Regions from separate parts of the Homo sapiens genome. Here region 1 is linked to region 2. Evidence: promoter capture Hi-C in human tissues and cell types (Jung and others, 2019). All regions are on one chromosome and are shown on one strand. The core of a region is centred on a gene start or on the middle of the fragment in contact, and the rest is flanking DNA. Distances in the headings are between cores, read along the strand shown. Region 1 has its middle 34 kb from the start of MIR3910-2. Region 2 holds the start of AUH (AU RNA binding methylglutaconyl-CoA hydratase).

Region 1 (2,700 bases), core at 23-2,522, 310 kb after region 2:
ATGTTTCAATAACTTGTTTTCTTTTTTATTTCTGAGTAGTATTCCATGTATGATATATCCTAGTTTGCTTAACCATTCATCCATTGAGGAATCCTGTCATTGTTTCCACTTTTTGGTAATACAAATAAGGCTGCTATAAACAATTATTTATAGGTTTTGTGCAAATATAAGTTTTCATTGAGCTGATTGAAATAAAAGCCCAGGAAATCAGTGGCTAGATTTTATGGTTAGTGTAAGCTTAGTTTTCTAAGAAATTGCCAAATGACTTTTAAGAATGCCTGTATTGGCTGGCACGGTGGCTCACGCCTGTAATCCCAGCACTTTGGGAGGCCGAGGCGGGCAGATCACGAGGTCAGGAGTTTGAGACCAGCCTGACCAACATGGTGAAACCTCGTCTCTACTAAAAATATAAAAATTAGCTGGGCATGGTGGTGCACACCTGTAATCCCAGCTACTCATGAGGCTGAGGCAGGAAATCACTTGAACTCAGGAGGCGGAGGTTGCAGTGAGCTGAGATCACACCACTGCACTCCAGCCTGGGTGACAGAGTGAGACTCCATATCAAAAAACAAAACAAAACAAAAAATAGAATGCTTGTATCATTTTACATCCTCACCAGCAATGTATGAAAGATACCGTTTTTCTGCTTCTCCACCAGCATTTAGAGTTACCATTATTTTTAAAGTTTAGTTGGCCTAATAAATGTATAGTGATATCCCAATATGGTTTGACGTTGAATACCTTTTCAAGCACTCATTTTCTATCTGCATATCCTCTTCTTGCCTTTTGTCCATTTTCCAGTTGGATTGTTGTCTTTTAATGCTGATTTCTGAGAGTTCTTTGTTATTCTAGATATGAGTCCTGCGCCAGATGTGGCTTGCAAATATTTTATCCCAGTAGCTTGTCTTTCCACGTTCCTATCAGGGTCTTTTGCAAAACAAAAGTTTTAACTTTTGATAAAGTCCAATGTATTAACTTTTTGCTTTTATAGAATGTGTTTGTTTGTTTGTTTGTTTTAAAGTTCCAGGATACATGTGCAGAACGTGCAGGTTTGTTATATAGGTATATGTGTGCCATGGTGGTTTGCTGCACCCATCAACCCGTCATCTAGGTTTTAAGCCCCACATGCATTAGTTATTTGTCCCTCCCCTCACCCCCCATCCCCTGACAGACCCCGGTGTGTGTTGTTCCCCTCCCTGTGTCCATGTGTTCTCATTGTTCAACTCCCACTTATGAGTGAGAACATGCCGTGTTTGGTTTTCTGTTCCTGTGTTAGTTTGCTAAGGATGATGGCCTCCAGCTTCATCCATGTCCCTGCAAAGGACACGATCTCATTCCTTTCTATGGCTTCATAGTATTCCATGGCATATATGTGCCACATTTTCTTTATCCAGTCTATCACTAATGGGCATTTGGGTTGGTTCCATGTCTTTGCTATTGTAAATAGTGCTGCAGTAAACATACGTGTGCATGTGTCTTTATACTAGAATGATCTCTATTCCTTTGGGTATATATCCAGTAATGGGATTGCTGGGTCAAATGCTATTTCTGGTTCTAGATCCTTGAGGAATTGCCACAGTGTCTTCTACAATGGTTGAACTAATTTACACTCCTACCAGCAGTGTAAAAGCACTATTTCCCCACAGCCTCGTCAGCATCTATTGTTTCTTGACTTTTTAATAATCGCCGTTCTGACTGGCATGAGATGGTATCTCATTGTGATTTTGATTTGTATTTCTCTAATGATCAGCGATGTTGAGCTTTTTTTCATATGTTTGTTGGCTGCATAAATGTCTTCCTTTGAGAAGTATCTGTTCATATCCTTTGCCCACTTTTCGATGGGGTTGTTTTTTTCTTGTAAATTTGTTTAAGTTCCTTGTAGATTCTGGATATTAGGTCTTTGTCAGATGGGTCGATTGCAGAAATTTTCTCCCATTCTGTAGGTTGCCTGTTCACTCTGATGATAGTTTCTTTTTCTGTGCAGAAGGTTTGCAAAGGAAATGCTTCGCTTTTGCCTATTCAGTATAATATTGGCTGTGGGTTTGTCATAAATAGTTCTTATTATTTTGAGATAATGTTCAATATCTAGTTTATTGAGAGTTTTTAATATGAAGGGATGTTGAATTTTATTGAAGGCCTTTTCTGCATTGCATCTATTGAGATAATCATGTGGTTTTTGTCATTGGTTCTTTTTATGTGATGGATTACGTTTATTGATTTGCATATTTTGAACCAGCCTTGCATCCCAGAGATGAAGCCTACTTGATTGTGGTGGGTAAGCTTTTGACGTGCTGCTGGATTTGGTTTCCCAGTATTTTTATTGAGGATTTTTGCATTGATGTTCATCAGGGATATTGGTCTGAAGTTTATTTGTTGTTGTTGTTGTTGTGTCTCTGCCAGGTTTTGGTATCAGGATGATGCTGGCCTCATAAAATGAGTTAGGGAAGATTCCCTCCTTTTCAATTGTTTGGAATAGTTTCAGAGGGAATGGTACCAGCTCCTCTCTGTACCTCTGGTAGAATTCAGCTGTGAATCCATCTGGCCCTGGGTTTTTTTTTATTGGTAAGCTATTAATTACTGCCTCAATTTCAGAACTTGTTATTGGTCTATTCAGGGATTCGACTTCTTCCTGGTTTAGTCTTTGGAGGGTGTATGTGTTCTGGAATTTACCAATTTCTTCTAGATTTTCTAGTTTATTGC
Region 2 (2,700 bases), core at 180-2,679:
CTGCTACGTGCTAGTGGCAATTTACATTAACAATCTCATCTCATCTTCATAACAAACCTATAAAGTTGGTATTGTTTTTCCTGTTTTACACGTGAGATAAGTCTGCCCAAGAACCCTCACAAATGGCAAAATCCACTGCCTATTAAAGAATGCCTTGGAACCCCTTTCAAATGGCGAAACCCTGCAGGTATTACAGCCCTTTCCTCTTACCATGCCTTGAAAGTTCACACAGCCTACTAATAACCAGGATCTGCTTCACTACACTAAAACCAATCACGACTTACACGCTTTTCACTTCTGCTTAACAGATTATAGGTGCTCAACAAATGCATGTCAAAATTAAAACACTGGTCCTCTGGCTTAACCCGGAGGTTAAGGGTGGAAACTGCTATTCCACCCTTCACGACCCTTTTAGCTTTTCCCTGCACTGCCAGTGAAAGGAACTGAGCTGTAACAGTATTCCCTAGGATTGTCAGCCTCCTTCAAAGCCTTCAAAGCTCTGTATTGTATTGCTAATGATGTCTCCTCCCGTAGAAGGTAGCTCAAGGGCAAGATCCATACCATCCACATTCTTATCGCCAGAGCTGAGGAAAATAAAAAGTGCTCAAAATTGTTTAAATGAAGTGGAACAGTCCCTCAAGACTAACTTTCTAAGAGAAAATGAACAAGAGGAAAAATTGTTCCAGCTGAGCAGCTTCAAATTTAAGATTCTCCGTAATAATAAAAGGCAGTTTCACCGCAGCTTTTACAACTCCACCACTAATAGCTGAGTTTACAGAAAGCCATTACACAGCAACAATAAAGCCTGGTAGCAAGGATTAAATCCCCAGGGTATATATTGACCTTGGCTTGTCTGGAGCGGAGGGCGTAAGCTGCACTTCTGTTTGCCGCGCTGAATGCGGTCACTTTACAGGTAAGCTGCTCGGGGGTACACGTTTAGGTTATTAAAAGCAAGAAATAGGTGCACAAGGAAGCGGCCACGCTGGGTGAGTAGGGAGGTGAGAAAGGGGAGGGACCCAGGTTCGGTGCGCCTGCCTGACCTCGACCCCGCGTCCTGCCGGCGGACGCTGCACCTTATGCCCGTCCTGAGAGCGAGCGGCCGCCCGCTGCCCCGCGCCTGCCCAGCGTTCGCACCTCACCTCGGTTCTCCTCCTCCAGGTGCCGCACCCGCAGCTCGTCCTCCGTCTTCATCTCAGAGCTGTAGCCCCTTTTCGGGGCGGGACCCCCGGCCGCAGGTACCCAGCCCTGGGCCCAGATCGCCGGGCCCGCTCGCCGGCCTGCCAACGAGCCGGGCAGCCTCAACCCCGGGCAGAGCCACGCACTGCAAGCGGCCACCAGGCGGGCGCCGCCAGCATGCAGGGATCCCAAGGCCCCAGGTGCCGCCGCCACCGCGGCCGCCATGTTGTCTGTTTACGGCGTGGACCTGCGACGGCCGCTCCGCCCCCGCCCGGCGCCGACCTGCCGCGCGCACGCGCACGGCGTCCGGACCCGCCGCCTCGCTCCGGCTTGGCCCCGCCCTCCGGAGCCGTGTTCCCGCCCCTCACTGCCCCGCCGAAGCCCGGTGACCCGAGGCCTTGCCCCATTCTCCAAGCGAGATTGGATGGTTTGTCCAATACAAAAGGAAAGAAAGTAGTTTTCCAAGGTTATGGAATAATTCAGGGAAGACTTTTCTATAAGAACCACCCGGAGGGAATTATCTCCCCGTACTCCCTGGACCATGCCCTGCGGTCCTGTGTTAAGTAAGCTGCAAAAGTGAACAAAAAAGTTTTGTCTCCTCAAGTTGGCTGAAAGTGTGGCAGCCCATCGTTGGTCACTGCCTTACTTATGGATCTCAGGTTGTTGGTTTAGCGTCCCTGATAAGCATAAATGATGTTTACTACGTGGCGTTCAGGAAAAGGATGAGAACAGCAAACAGGCAAAGGAGTTCTTTCTCCAGCCCACCCACTCGTACCGATGTCCCATGGCCCTTCCTGGACGGAAAGAGTCTTACAGGGGTTCAAACAAGCCATACGCTGAGATGGGATTTAGAGTATGTAGCTCTTCCAGAAACTCGGGATATCAATTTAGTGTGTAGGTACTCATCAAAGCACGTTGCAGTATAATTAATGCTACCTAGCTTTTATCAGATCTCTAATGGGAAAGCTTGCATTTAAGAATACTGGGCAGGGGGCGGTGGCTCACGCCTGTAATCCAAGCACTTTGGGAGGCCGAGGCAGGTGGATCACCTGAGGTCAGGAGTTTGAGACCAGCCGGGCCAACGTGGTGAAACCCTGTCTCTACTAAAAATACAAAATTAGCCAGGTGTGGCGGCACACGCCTGTAATCCCAGCTACTCGGGAGGCTGAGACAGGAGAATTGCTTGAACCCGGGAGGCGGAGGTTGCCCTGAGCTGAGACTGCACCATTGCACTCCAGTCCAGGCAACAAGAGTGAAACTCTGTCTCAAAAAAAAAAAAAAAAAAAAAAAAGAATACTGTTTGAAAAGTGTGCTGCTATGAGCATACGTCTAGTGCCACAGAAATTTCTTGTATTTTTTAGTCCTAAGCAAAACATCCTTCATTATGTCCTCAACTTTTATCCAATGTAGAAACAAAAAGTAGACTGAATTCCATTACTGCATCTGCTGTAAAATGATGTTGAAGGCACTTTTATTTTTATTTTTATTTTTTATTTTTTGACAGGTTCTGGCTCTGTCGGCCAG

What was found. The method cuts DNA at HindIII sites, captures the fragments that hold promoters and counts their contacts. A contact is called where the count stands out against the background at its distance.
Region 1: a contact is called between a fragment that was not itself captured here and the fragment with the promoter of AUH in region 2, in 1 of the 25 tissues and cell types used here (heart right ventricle).

Annotation. Positions count from the first base shown.
Region 1 is chr9:91,668,634-91,671,333 of GRCh38, forward strand. No RefSeq gene overlaps it. Among named protein-coding and RNA genes, the nearest start is that of MIR3910-2, 34 kb to the left of the region's middle. The HindIII fragment of the contact is 3,927 bases long and covers 1-2,700 here.
Region 2 is chr9:91,360,489-91,363,188 of GRCh38, forward strand. AUH (AU RNA binding methylglutaconyl-CoA hydratase) reads right to left here and starts at 1,430. Exons shown (of 10, transcript NM_001698.3): 1 at 1,140-1,430. The coding sequence starts at 1,401. RefSeq lists a silencer at 1,161-1,600. The HindIII fragment of the contact is 4,188 bases long and covers 1-2,700 here.